Linked DNA regions of Homo sapiens: regions 2 and 3 are each linked to region 1. Evidence: promoter capture Hi-C in 16 types of primary human blood cells and fetal thymus (Javierre and others, 2016). All regions are on one chromosome and are shown on one strand. Each heading gives the region's core, a stretch centred on a gene start or on the middle of the fragment in contact. The rest is flanking DNA. Distances are from core to core; before and after follow the strand shown.

Evidence for each region. Contacts are between HindIII fragments. The CHiCAGO score rates a contact against its expected background, and 5 or more counts as called.
Region 2: a fragment that was not itself captured here is called in contact with the fragment with the promoter of AGMO in region 1 in 1 of 17 cell types (endothelial precursors); the score reaches 5.4 in endothelial precursors.
Region 3: a contact is called between a fragment that was not itself captured here and the fragment with the promoter of AGMO in region 1, in 1 of 17 cell types (endothelial precursors). The highest score is 5.2, in endothelial precursors.

What each region holds. Positions count from the first base shown.
Region 1 is chr7:15,560,737-15,565,819 of GRCh38, forward strand. It overlaps AGMO (alkylglycerol monooxygenase), which reads right to left and starts at 1,279. Exons shown (of 13, transcript NM_001004320.2): 1 at 984-1,279. The coding sequence starts at 1,109. The HindIII fragment of the contact is 1,289 bases long and covers 294-1,582 here.
Region 2 is chr7:15,918,570-15,923,123 of GRCh38, forward strand. No RefSeq gene overlaps it. Among named protein-coding and RNA genes, the nearest start is that of LINC02587, 230 kb to the left of the region's middle. The HindIII fragment of the contact is 1,795 bases long and covers 1,388-3,182 here.
Region 3 is chr7:16,043,743-16,048,795 of GRCh38, forward strand. No RefSeq gene overlaps it. Among named protein-coding and RNA genes, the nearest start is that of CRPPA-AS1, 160 kb to the right of the region's middle. The HindIII fragment of the contact is 737 bases long and covers 3,167-3,903 here.

The DNA.
Region 1 (5,083 bases), core at 29-2,528:
TTTTCTGCTTAGAATTTTAGAGAATATGGTAATTTTACATGTTTGCTTAAAACATGATTCAGATTTTATTCATTTGGTTTTGATTTTTGTTTCACATAATAAGAGATGTTTTGAAAGCTCCACTATTGGTGATGGAGCATTGAATTTGGTTTGATATTGCAGTATAAACAATAATAATTTATGAAGATATCAGTGCCACTTTTTTTAACTTAAAAACTCAGAAAGAAAGTGTAATATCTAATCTTGAAAAAGATACGGATTTTACTCATTTGGAAGCTAATCATGAGTTTTGAAGCTTTCTAAACTGAACTCTCAATAACATATTCTATGATGTCATTTTTTTTCTATTTCTGCCATGAACTAGTGAGTGTTGTAGGAATAACTTTGATAGGGTGGGGAACTTCAGTATTCAAGTTCTAATTCTGGATATTTCCACTTCCAATCATAGCCAGGAACCAGAAGTGAAATGTGCCTCTGAGCACTTCAGAGTTTCAAAGAAAACTTGGGTCAAATTCAAACTTAGGAAGTCAGAGCTGGACCTGGTCAAGCTGCATATCCTTCATTCTGCTGAACTACTCTACCAAATGAAAGAGGAAATAGTTTCCCTGGAAGGGGTGGACAAGTGAAAGATTTAAAAATGAAATTGTTACAAAGTTTACTGATGTGGTGTAACTATTTGTCATTGAGCTTCCAATAGCTACATTTACAATGCCATGGAGTCCAGGAAAACTTTAAACTTTTGTTTTTGTCATATTCTGGAGTGACATATAAAAGAGGGAATTTACAGGTGAAGATGGCTATGGATTGTAAGAAAATTCAAGTGGAAATTCTACTTTTGCTTCACGCCTTTAAGAAACTGAATTATTATTATTAGAATGTAATCATTTGAATAATGAAAGTGAACAAAACCCTAAGGAGATTGACCTTACCATTTATTAAGAAAGCAGCAAGAATAAGAGTAGCCTCTTCCAATAAAGTCTCACCTTTTTTACATAATCAGGCACCTCTTCTAATGTTTGGAATGAAGTTTCACTGGGTTTCATCGTGTAAAACAACATGCGAAATCCCTGGGAAACTGAAACATCCTGCTGGGCTTCTGGGTTCTTCATTTCTGCCCTTGTCTGATTCCCAGCTGGAGAATATTTAGGATTCAATGCTTGAAGCCTGAGGCTGAACAAAGAGGACGAGATGTGCAGCTCAGAACAAGCTCTTTGTCAGAGAACAGCTAAAACCAAAGCTCCACTGAGAGCACACTCAACAGCCGATTCTGTGTAGAGAGACAGGAAAATACAAGGATCAAGAACAAGTACAGAGTTCAGTGGGCGCTGGGCCAGAAACAGGGCATGTGGGGGAGGGAAAAGAGGACTCATACCCAAATCAAAGTCATACAGTGCAGTTTGACTGTAGGTGGAGCAAGTTACTACTTAAAAAAGAAGAGAAAAAACATCATAATAGTGTCTCGGAAAGAAAAAAGTGATAACGCAGGTATATGTTCACTCTGAAAAACTGGATAGAAATTCAAGCATCAAGTCACATAGAAAAACCTTTTTTTCTCCTCATTTAGAAATTTACAATGTGTTCAAGCTTGTAGTTTCTTTATTTCCTACAGAGACTGTGTATAGGCGAGCTACTTAATAATAGCTTGAAAGTCAGTAAGCACTGAATATCTGGCTCCTTATTGCCTATCTATATTTCTGTATCTGAATCATGTTATTACCACTTCTGAATGTTTGCAACCAGTTTAGGGGCATTTGGCTTATTACATAATCTACATTATTTAATGGAAAATTGGCTAGTCACATCTTCTCTATTCTTCTTAGTACTTATGGGAACTTTCTGATTAAAGAAGGTGCCAAGATGTTGCTGTGAGACCTGTTTCTGTTTTACAGAAAGAGCTTAAGTGATTGTACCTTTTAAGTAGATTAGAAGGCACTTAATTTATTACATTACCAGTGAATATGTGGAGCTTGCCAGAATAGCCTCAGCTCTTTACCCAAAACAGCTGTAATCATCCTTTAGCTGCCATTTCATCATTTAAAGATGTTTACATAGATCTAATTAAAGTATCAATGCACGATTGTTTTAGAAAAATATAGAAACTATAGATAAGCAATAATAAGCTGCCCAAAACGCTATTAACATTTTGGTACATGTATGGTCAGTTTTGCTATAATGTGATATATCCATTCCTAAAAATCACTATACTGTACAAAATTGTGCAATAAAAACCACGGGACTTGTGAGAAAAAATGTGATTAGGGTAAAATACTCAAAAACTTCATAATGACCCACAAGGAACAAGAAAAAAAGGATGAGAGCCTAATAAAAATGGTAGCACACTTTCACACGTTACATGGTTAAGATATACATAAATACTAAAATAAATATGATGCTTTACCTTGAAAAAGACCTGAAACTTGTTTTGGAAATTAGGCATTGGAAGATTTGCAAACTGCAAGTTACTTTAGCTTGTTGAAATGTGGGTTATCTGAAATCAGACAGAAAGTTGCAATATGACATATGGGTGTCAAGGCTCACAACACACAGGTGAAGTGAGGGTGTTACTATAAGTGGTGGGTGTATTTTGTGCATCCTAAGCCTTTCTGTTTTTCAGTTCAGTTTTTTAAAGTTCAACTACTCTTTTTCACTGAAAATAAAATCACACATGAGCATAGGCAGTATGCTCAAATTATTTTCTGGTATATTAATCACATTGGAACAAATTTAATCTCAAAGCACATGTTATAGCAGAATTGACTGTCCTTTCAGACCATTCCCATTACCAATAAGTACATATGGACATTAATTTTTAATAAAGGTGTCTGGGCGTGGTGGCTCACACCTGTAATCCCAGCCAGTACTTTGGGAGGCCGAGACGGGCTGATCACCTGAGGTCAGGTGTTTGAGATCAGCCTGGCCAACATGGCAAAACCCCGTGTCTACTAAAAATACAAAAATTAGCTGGGTGTGGTGATGGGCACCTGTAGTCCCAGCTATTCGGGAGGCTGAGGCAGGAGAATTGCTTGAACCCAAGAGGTGGAGGTTGCAGAGAGTGGAGATTTTGCCATTGCACTCCAGGCTGGGGGACAGAGCAAGACTCTGTCACAAAAACAAAAAAAAATTTAATAAAAATGATCATAGTAGGCATACTGTTTTATTACCTGCTTTCAAAACAATTTTGGAAATTAACAATGTGATACAAGAGAAAAAAATACAAACAATATAGCTGTATATAAAGTCAAAAGTGGCAGCATCCTTTCTTCTCAATATATGCACACCTTGCACTTCACTTCATAGGGATAACATATCCTCTTGGTGGGGTTTTTTTTTTTTTTTTTTTTTGCCATATCTGTTTTTTCCTAAAAGGGATAGTTATTATCATTATTACTATACAAATACGTTTCTATATACACATAATGGTTCGATTTTGCAATGGACCTTATCAAACATAAGATACAGCAAGTTCCTTCTTGGAGTCAATAACTTACCAGGAACATTTCTTTTTTAGTATATGATTATACAGGTACAGCCTTTTCTTCGTTGTTTTTACTGGCTGCAAAAGTGTGTGTGTGCATTTCAATGAGCAAAACAAAATTATTTCTAACTTTTTAAAGCAGAAGCAATTTTATACAAGAAAAAAGTTGTTACATAGATGATGGGAGAAGTAAAAAACCAAGCAGGAACAAAGAGGTAATCTAGAGATTAGTACCAATAGGAAGCCACTACCATTGTTAAATTGTAGGGACAAATGGAGAAGGTTGTATTAGTAGGGCCCAGGGGCTATGGTCATCTAGGAAAAGTTAGAACCACCATTGGCTTGTCTAGCAAGAGTATTTCCCATGGAGCAAAGCCAATCAAAGCCAGAAATAATACCCATGGCAGAGAGGGAAGAAAGGGAAGTACTATGGCTTCTCCCTTCTTCCTGCCCACCAGTCTCCCAACAGTACTTCCCATTAGGCTATGACATGGTTGGATTTGCGTCCTGGCCCAAATCTCATGTCAAATTGAAATCCCCAGTGTTGGAGGAGGGGCCTCGTGGGAGATGATTGGATCATGGGGGTAGATTGCCCTCTTGCTGTTCTCCTGATAGTGAGTGAGTTCTCAAGAGATTGGTTGTTTAAAAGTGTGTAGCACCTCCCTCTTCTGTCTCGTCCTCCTGCTCTGGTCATGTAAGGCACACCTGTTTCCCCTTCTGCAGTGATTGAAAGTTACTTGAGGCCTCCCTAGCAATTATTCCTGTACAGCCTGCAGAACTATGAGGCAACTAAAACTCTTTTCTTTACAGATTACTCAATCTCAGATTGTTCTTTACAGCAGTGTGAGAATAGACTAATACAAGCTAAATGAGTCAAAAGCCAGTTGACAGAAAAAGCTAGAAAAAGAAGCCTGCTGAAGGTAACCTCTTACTACACACAGTGCTGAAGGAGAAAGGGAGGGAAGAATCAATCTATGGAAAAAGTCAACCAAGAACCAGCACACCATCATAACTTATTTAATTACTCCTCTATTGTTGTGTGTGTAAACGCAGTCTTCCATTTTTAACTAATAAATTTAATGCAACAATAAACATCATGGTATAAATATTTATACATTTTGCACATTTTTTGTTACATAGATTCCTAGCAGCGGAATTATGCTATGAAGATGATGTAAAATTTACCCTTTGATAATTACTGCCGAATTCCCCTTTCAGATTGCCTTCCCCTCCACACTCTTGCTAACACTGGCTATTATTAATCTTTCATAATTTTTAGCCAATTAGTTAATGAAAAAATGGTATCTTGTTTTAATTTGCATCTCACTAATGACACTGAACATCTTTCAGTACATTTATTAATGTTTTTTTGCTTCTTAATCTGAAATTTATTTTTTAATATGAGCTGCACATTATTTTATTTCATTGTCATTATTGGTTTATAGGCCATTTGTATTATAAATATATAATTCTATGTACAGTATATATATTCTGATATATGTGACAAGTATTTTCTCATTTCATATTCACTAGTTATCTATATGTTGTCATACTGCAATTGTAACTTTGTGTGTGCTGTTATCCTTTGTTACCTCTGCTTTTGGATCT
Region 2 (4,554 bases), core at 1,035-3,534, 360 kb after region 1:
GGCTTTAAATCCAATACAAGTGAACCAATAAGAGACACACAGAGCAGAGCCACACAGGGAAAACAGGAGACCATGTAAAGATGGAGGGAGAGATTGGATTGACCAAAACCCAAGAAACTCTGGAGCCACATGGAAGAGGCAAGGCAGGATTGCCCCATTAGAGCCTTTGGGAAGAGTAAGCCCTGTAGACACCTTGACTTCAGACTGCTGGCCTCCAAACCGTGAAAGGTTAACCTTCCATTACTTAAATCCACCGAGTTTGTGGGAAGTTGTTATGGCAACCCTAGGAAACTAATGTAGGTAGCTATTTATACATTCACTCCTAACTATATCTTAAAATTCTGCAGGGCAGATGTCCCACATTGTTTTTAAATTAATAGACTTTATTTCTTGAGCAGTTTTCACTTTACAGAAAAATTGAGCTCCAAGTACAGAGCATTCTCATATACCCCTTCCCATTTCCCTTATTATTAACAGCTTGCATTAGTGATGTACAGTTGCTACAGTTAATGAGCCAACAGTGATACGTTATTCTTGACTGAAGTCCATAGTTTACATTAAGGTTCACTCTTTGTATTGTATATTCTGTGGGTCTAGGCAAATGTTAATGACATGGAACCACCATTACAGTATCATACAGAATAGTTTCACTGCCCTAAAAATCCTGTGTTCCACCTATTTATTCTTCCCTTCTCCCAAACCTTGGAAACTGCTGATCTTTTTTACTGTCTCCACCTGCCTTTTCCAGAAAGCCATATAGTTGGAATCATACAGTATGTAGCATGTTCAGATTGACTTGTTACCGTATCAGCGTTTACGTTTTCTTCATGTCCCTTGTTTGTTTGATAGCTCATTTTTTAAAAATCACTGAATAATCTTCCATTGTATAAGAGGCCATAGATTTGTATTTCACCTTTGTAGCCTTACCACATCGCTCAGAGTATTACATAAATGTTCATTAAATTAATAGATACACAAGTAGATACATATACATGGATGAATGACTGAATAAACAGTGAACGAGTTTTAATGACTTATTGAATATAAAGTGAAAGTATGCAATCCTATAAAACGACTAAAGTGACTATATTATTTTCTTGCTGTCACTGAAAGCACGCAATGGATGTCACTCAGGATTTCTAGGTTCATTCTGGGTTCTGGCTTGCATTGAACTGGTTTGTGTTAGATCCCAAGGCCAAAGGAATAAACTGAACTGAAAAAGTCGGTATACCTAAATGACTCCTGGCCACATCAGAAATCGCCTTAAACTGCTAGGAAGTGTATAATTCATCTTCACAGATTCACAGTACTTTGAGTTTCATTACTGTTGAGTTTTGTTGTCAATTTTAAAAACAGTTAAAAGGTAAAAAACATGTAATACTTATGAAGCTTCTTCAGGGCACAATTTCAGGCTGAGTAATATCATTTCTCTGTCCTATAGCTGAATGGCTGAGATCAGAGGATTTGCTTCAGTTACCCTTTTATCTCACCCTCTTTTTTGTTGAAAAGATTAACTTTCAGTAGCACTTAATATTTATGAATGAAATTATACCAAATAGAGAATTCAAAATAATTTTGAGAGGTCTTATGGGAAAAGGAAAAAGATTGGTCCCAAGATGATAACTGTTGAAGCTGAGTAACAGAGATAAGAAAGTTTATTATATTCTCTACATTTGTATATGTTTGAATTTTTCCATAGTTAAGAAAACTCATTTTATAAAATACTGATAAAAAGAATGTCAACATAATTTGTTGTTATTGTTATTGTCATTGTTGTTGAGACAGAGTCTCGCTCAGTCACTCAGGCTGGAGTGCAGTGGTCCGATCTCAGCTCATCGCAACTTCTGCCTCCCAGGTTCAAGCGATTCTAGTGCCTCAGCCCCCCAAATAGCTGGAATTACAGGTGGCACACTACCATGCCCGGCTAATTTTTGTATTTTTAGTAGAGACGAGGTTTCACCATGTTGGCCAGGCTGGTCTCGAACTCCTGGCCGCAAGTGATCCACCCATCTCGGCCTCCCAAAGTGCTGGGATTGCAGGTGTGAGCCACTGCACCCGGCCAACATATTTTTTAAATAACTACGTTATAAATGTAAACTGAAAGTCGTTTTAATCTCATGTCAAATCAGAATTTTTGATACCCCTAAAATACCTAATACCCTAAAAATCTGTGTGAATTAAGCAGCTTCAGACCTTTACATTGCCTAAGTTGCTTCTCTCTCTCTCGCTCTGCCTCCATATATATATATATTATTATGTAATTATATTATATTATACATATCTCTCTTCACATATATATATCTCCATATATATTACTACAAACAGTTAATATATTACTATTAAAAAGTTAGTATAAAATATATACTATAAGAAAGTTGCAAGACGAAATATTTGAATAGTCTCATAAAGCTGTCAGCATATAATATGATTTCGGCTGCATTTTTTCGTGGTGACTTCAGAGAAGATACATGAAACATTATCTGATATGCAACCTCACGGTAAATAATTTCGTTTATTCTCAAATTATTGGTATACCACAAATAGGAAGGATTCCCCTTCCCCCACTTTTGGCAATCCTTAAATAAACTGCAAATTCATGTCACCATCTGGCTGGCAATGGACACAGGCAGATTAATCATTTCCTTTTTGAATAATAAAAAAAGTTCCCTTCAAAATGCCCCCAAAATATTGGATAGGAAAGAAAAACATGAAAGTTTTATTTACAATTTCAAATGGTTTGCAACACACGAAACCCTGCAACGGAAACTTGCTTTGCTCAAGCTGGCATTACACAGTTTGATTTCTTATTGATAAACATATATATTATGCCTACAAGAAATGTCATTTATTAAAAGAATGATACAAAAAATTGAACTTTTGGTTTTCAGAAAGCACAGATTGCTCAAACACAGCATCTTAGTTCCCCAGGAGGCTCCACTCAGTGCCTCCCAACACCTCTCACTTCAGTCTCCCGCTTTTTCATTCTTCTCTTCCTCACTGTTTATAATAATAATTTGTAACACATTTATCATCGTTGGTAAAGTAAATCATTGAAACCTGAATTGCCGCCACCTTGCTGTTGAACATGGAAAAGAGCTGAAATCCCTTTGAAATAACCTGTATCACTTGGTTGATATTTTTTTCCTGCCCGTAGCAATGTTACTTTGGTTTTGTTGTTTTGAAGCTTTTTGATTTTTTTTTGCTACACATTTTGATGTTTGACTAATAGAAAAATATTTCCTTATTTTCTTAGTCATTACTATGCCAAGTGATTCATTTCTTCTCTGCCTTTTTTTTGTAGCCTCAGGCATTCTTAGTGGTGTCACTAAATTTATCTTGCAGATGTTAAAAAAGAATCCCCACTAGAATCCTAGTATGTAGACTTTTATAGTGTTATGAAACATGCCTATTTTTAAATATTTAATTAATATTTTAATGTGGTATAAATAACAGCATCTCTGAAGCCATTGCCATTCCCAGGAGTCAGGGGAGGCTATACAGAACACTGTCCTGTTACAATAATTTTCTAATGATTTGGATTATAGTCATTGCTTCCTTTTTCTGCTGTTATAATAATTTGACCCCTGACCCATACCAACTTCCTAGTCATCTATTCAGTTTTTATTTATTTATTCAATAAATATCTCTTGACCACTACTTTTTTGCCATGCACTGAGTTAAACATTGTTAACTATTAGTTTAATACATTGTTAATACATTCAAGTAGCTCACACATCCTGAGGGCTGTCTTTGTTCAAAGAGTGTTTATAGACAAGAAAAATGGGAGTAACAATGTCCTTCTGTGACATAAGCATAATTGGAAAAAAAAGTAAAAGTATAAACAAGAGAGCTTTGGAAAGAAAAGAAGGTTCTGAAACATTTTAGATTGGGAGCAAATATTTGGATTTGAACACCAGGCTTTCTAGCTTTTGACAAAATTCAAAATCCTTTTACATGAAAATCCCTCAACAAAGTAGGTAGAGAAGGACTTTACCTCAACATTAAAAAGGTCATGTATTAAATATATATGTGTGTATATATATATACATATACACACATACATACATATATCTCACAGCTGATATCATACTCAATGGTGAAAAACTGAAAGATTTTCCTATGAGAAATAAGGCATGATTGCCCCATTCTCCACCACTTCTATTCAACAGAGTACTGGAAGTCCTCGATATAACAATCAGGCAAAAAAGAAATAAAAGTCATCCAAATTGAAAAGGAAAAAGCAAAATTATCTCTGTTTGCAGATGACATGACCTTACACATTGAAAATGTCAAAGACTCCACCAAAAAAAAAAAACCTGTTAGAATTAAGAAATGCAGCAAAGTTGTTGATTCAAAATCAACATACAAGTATCAGTTGCATTTCCGCACACTATCAAAGAACTGTTCAAAAAAGAGATTAAGAAAGCAATCCTGGTCAGGCACGGTGGCTCACACCTGTAATCCCAGCACTTTGGGAGACCGAGGTGGGTGGATCACGAGGTCAGGAGATGGAGACCATCCTGGCTAACATGGTGAAACCCTGTCTCTACTAAA
Region 3 (5,053 bases), core at 2,285-4,784, 490 kb after region 1:
TTAAATATTTTTTATATTTTCTGCATGTACTATCTTTTTTTTTTTTTTAGACAGAGTCTTGCTCTGTCACCCAGACTAGAGTGCAGTGGCATGATCTCGGCTCACTGCAACCTCTGCCTCCCGGGTTCAAGCAATTCTCCTGCCTCAATTCTCAGCCTCCCAAGTAGCTGGGATTACAGGCCCTCACCACCATGCCTAGCTAATTTTTTTTTTTTTTTTTTTTTTTTTAAGTAAAGATGGGTTTTTGCCACGTTGGTCAGGCTGGTCTTGAACTCCTCAGGTGATCCACCTGCCTCAGCCTCCCAAGGTGCTGGGATTACAGGCATGAGCCACAGTGCCCGGCCTGCATGACTGTCTTTTGGGATAATGTTCCACATCTCTCAGCCAGTTTCTCTGACAATAAACGGTGGAGTGGACCTTAGAATCCAGGAGTGGCTGTCTCCAAAGCATATGTTTTCACTATACTATACCATTTTCTATAGCGAAATACAAATGATTTTGGATTGACTAAGCCTCAGTTCCCCTTTGTCAATATATATATGATTAAGGGTTGATATTCTTATCAACTCAACTCAGTTCCCCTTTATCTATCTATATCTATATATATATATATATTCATATCTATCTATCTAATTAAGGGTTGGTATTATTTAGCAAATTTACAGGACTTAAATTTATCAAAGCAAATTTCTCTGTGTCTTCCTTGCCGTAAAGCAATGCCTGGGAAGTTCTGAACCCTTGCCTTGAGGCAGCCCAGTTATTGTTCAATCTGACAACATGGTGCCTTGAGTTTTGGCATTGGAAGATGCCAACCATGTCAGCAGCATAGAATTGCTGAGGTGTGTTTGGCATGAACTACCTAGTCCTCCCAGAACTACTCTAGTCCTTCCAGTTTATTATACTGATATGCTCAGGAGTAATCATCACTTAATAGTCTGGACCTTGACCAAGCCCAGATTCCTGGACTTCTCTGAAGCTCTTATAATGGCCACACAACTGAACTCTATTAACTGCTGAAGACCACCCAGGAGTAGGGCTTAAACTGGATGTGGCCATATCAAATTTCCCAGGGCTTCCCCAAGCTAAACTGGGTCACCCAGGACCACCCAGAGGCAGAACTGCAGATGAAGTAGAGTTTTGGTTTGGACTCAACTTCCAAAGAATGTGTGTTGTCTTCTCCAGCATTGAGAAACCAAGCTAGAAAGGCCAGAGCCTACTCACTCATGGAAACAGCTTGGATAGAATATATCATCCCACCACTTGGCTTCAGTAATATGTATAGCATCAGCTGTCCTCATCTAAGAATCAGAGGCTGTGAATCCTAAACTGTGAACTTTCCAGGAATGCTGCAAAAGCCATCTTTCTCATCTACCCTATCCAATAGATTGAGGAAAAATTGAACTTTGTCTTCTCTCAGTCATCTGATTCTTGAGAAGTTGAGAATATTTTACTCAGGATTTTATATAAAATTATTAACTGGCTAATTATATAGTGCACTGCAATTTTTGGATGAAATTTGTTATATACATAAAAGATATCAGCACTGTTTGTCATTCAGCTAATTTCTTTGCGTGAGTTTTGAAAATAAACATCTGTATCATAAAGATTATATCAGGATGAATCCTGCGAATTCACAGCAGTAGGTTGGGATCTAGTACTTTGTTTTTAAGTCTGATTGTGCGGATGCTACAGTTCAACTTGCATGTAGCTGTATGTTTTTGTTTCATATAAGCAAAAGTAGAAAGTGATGAATGAGCATACTGAACCATTCTCTAGCTGAGAAATTTTGACCTTCTGAATGTGTATTACCATGGCCATATTCCAAGCTGTTCTATTAAGTCCCTTGAGCAATTCCAAACTGATATTGTTATTTAACAGAAATTTTTCTTGTGTACAGATGTAAAGAGATACTAGTATAGTTACACTGCAAGTCACCATATAATCTGACTTCAGCATAGACATGTCTCTGAAAAACCTAGGATGCTGCTTTTCCTTCAGCCATCCATCAACTCAATGACAGAATGTAAGAAAATTCTATTATTTTCCACCTTCCCCCAAAAACCAAAAATAAGAGGTTTCACCAGTTTATGAAATACTTAAAATTTCATCAAAGATAGATAGATTGATGCCCAAGTGATAGTTTTGTGAGAAAAGAGAAAATCCTAGTAGATTTATCTATTTCTTGAATAGGAAGAGGGGTTAACCCAAGAGTCATTTGTCACCCACCATGTGGAATCAATTATGTCAGACTGAGCCATCAATTAAATTGGAAGTCATTGCCCTTATGCTTTCTAGATTATAGAAAAAATCTTATACAAATGAGAAAGAGAAAGCAGCAAGACTGTACCTGGTTGATTCAAACCCTTGCTTTCCTGCAATTCTATTACCAAAGATTGTCTTTCATCACGTTCAGGATTTTCACCTACAACTGCACCGCAATACCAGCATCCAGTTACACATCCACACCACTGCTTAGCAGACAGACTAAGAAATCTCTCCAGTTTAGTCATTTATGTGTCAGCAAGCAGGGAGCCCCACTTCCCTCATTGCCAGAAAACTTACTTCTGCAACACTGGAGTGATGGCTAGACATTTACAAGCCATTTTCTTTGGCTGACAATTTTGTTTTAAACCCTGCAACTACTGTTTTATTGAATTAATTTCAAATGCAGTTGTGTTTCCAGTAATCTACGACAGTTTTAAAAGTTTGAAGATGGAGACAACAGTAGAGCAGATGTATTTCATTGGGACTTGTTAGCATCTTGCTAAACTATGTTAGAGAGATTTTTCAGGAGGCAAACATCAGGTCAAGCAACAACAAATCCTTTTTAACCATATATAATTTTACCTCAAGAGATAAAATGGGAATACACAAGCCATAAAAATCTTAGCTCAACATGCAAGGATTACACATGCATATAAAATATAAGATGAATGATTTTTAAAATCCTGAAAATATCACAACAGATTATTAATTGTAAAGAAAATGCATTTGTTAAAAAAAAAAAAAAGGGCACCTATGATATGCCAGACACTGCTCTAGATTTGTGGAATTAATCAAGGTCTAAGGGGCTTGACTTCAAGGAGTTTCTGTCCAAAAAGGGTTGGGGGGCAGGATGGGTGGCAGGGAGCAGACAGGAACAAAGAAAATAACAAGTAAATTACAAAGCTTATGGGAACATAGTAAGTACAATGAAAAGATGAACAGGTGGAGTAGGGGAAGGGAGCTTCCCAAGTGCAGGGATTGGAGAAGGAGGGCAGGTCAGAGAATCTGAGTTATCTATATATTCTTTGATAAGGTGACATTCGAACAAACACTTGAAGGAAGTGAGGGCATTAGCCAGTATTTTTAAATATGCTTGCTATATTATACTTGCTATATTTTAAATATACTTGCTATATTTCAGTTCTGTTTATCACATCAGTGTGTAATTCTCAAATCCATAGAATTACACACTGATCTGATAAACAGAACTGAAGACTAATCATTAAAATTTTAGAGAGCACAAATGGTAAAACAAATGGTAAAAGTACACTTGCATCTCACTTGGATTGCTTCTCCCAAGGACTTCTTTTCCACACCTCTTTCTTTGTTCTCATTTCTTGCTTTACTCTTCTGTTTTTCCTGCCAAATTCATGTGCTTTCTCTGTTTCTATATAAGTGCTTTTAAAATTAAGTGAATAACTAGAAGTGTTTCCAGTATAACTATCTTCTCAGGAAACCAACAAGCCCACTTACCTTATCCTTGCTGTGAACACTTTCCTTTACTGAGGTGACCATAAGAATCAAGGTAAAGTCTATGTCTTATTTCATGATTTTAAGTGTGTTCCTGAAACCCTTGACTTCTCAATCTGCAATTACAACTTTTCACATATAAAAACCTATCCATGCAGAAATCATCTAAGCTTGTTATACTTTACAACCCAGACTCATATATTAACATTCTTCATTTTTGTCTTTAAAAAAGTTTTGTCATTGTTTGACCAAGAGAACATTATTTCACAACTCAAATAAATATTCTTCTTCTGAGGTTTATTCTCATTACATTAGGCAGCTACCTCAGAAATACAGAAAACAAAAAAAAAAAAACAAAATCTTTAACCTACTTAAAAATTTTTAATTCATCACAGCAAGTGATCATCTTTCAATGGCCACAGAATAAGCAAAGCCTGGCCTGGCATGGTGGCTCACGCCTGTAATCCCAGCACTTTGGGAGGCCGAGGTGGGTGGATCACGAGGTCGGGAGATCGAGATCATCCTGGCTAACATGGTGAAACCCCATCTCTACTAAAAATACAAAAAATTAGCCAGGCGTGGTGGCGGGCACCTGTAGTCCCAGCTACTCGGGAGGCTGAGGCAGGAGAATGGCGTGAACCCGGGAGGCGGAGCTTGCAGTGGGCTGAGGTCGCGCCACTGCGCTCCAGCCTTCCAGCCTGGGAGACAGAGCGAGACTCCGTCTCAAAAAAAAAAAATTAGGCAAAGCCTAATTGTTCGATATAGTTAGAAACTTTTCAATTTTGTGGGCTACTAAAACATAGGGAGGTGGTCAATGCTTATTCACTATTCCCTGAGACCTCTCCAAACAACTTCACTAGCAGAGGAGTAGAAAAGTAGGAATTTAAAAAAGGAAGACTTGAGGATACTTTATTCTTTGGGTATATTAGCCACTCTTTTGAAACTCAAGGAAATGTCTAGGGCATAGTTCTAAGAAAAGGATAGGTGGTTGTCAAACAAAAATCACTTCAAAAGATATACCACTGAACCTGAGGACCTATCAGTCTGGAGTTTCTGGTTTTGTTTCTACTTTTAAATCATAGCCTTATATATAAGAGAATAAATGAAAGCTACCCTTTGCTTTTAATAATTCTTGTTTCCTTTCTCCATGCAAAGAAAAATGAAAGGAAAAGGAGGCTTTCATCTGATTTATTCTAAAATGAGCCTACATCATTGCTTAAGATAAGGTATACATAATCTTTAACATCATAAAGTTAAAAGCATATTGTCAAAATGCCCCTTTAACACAAAAAGTGAATTTTTAAGAGATTTTCTGTTT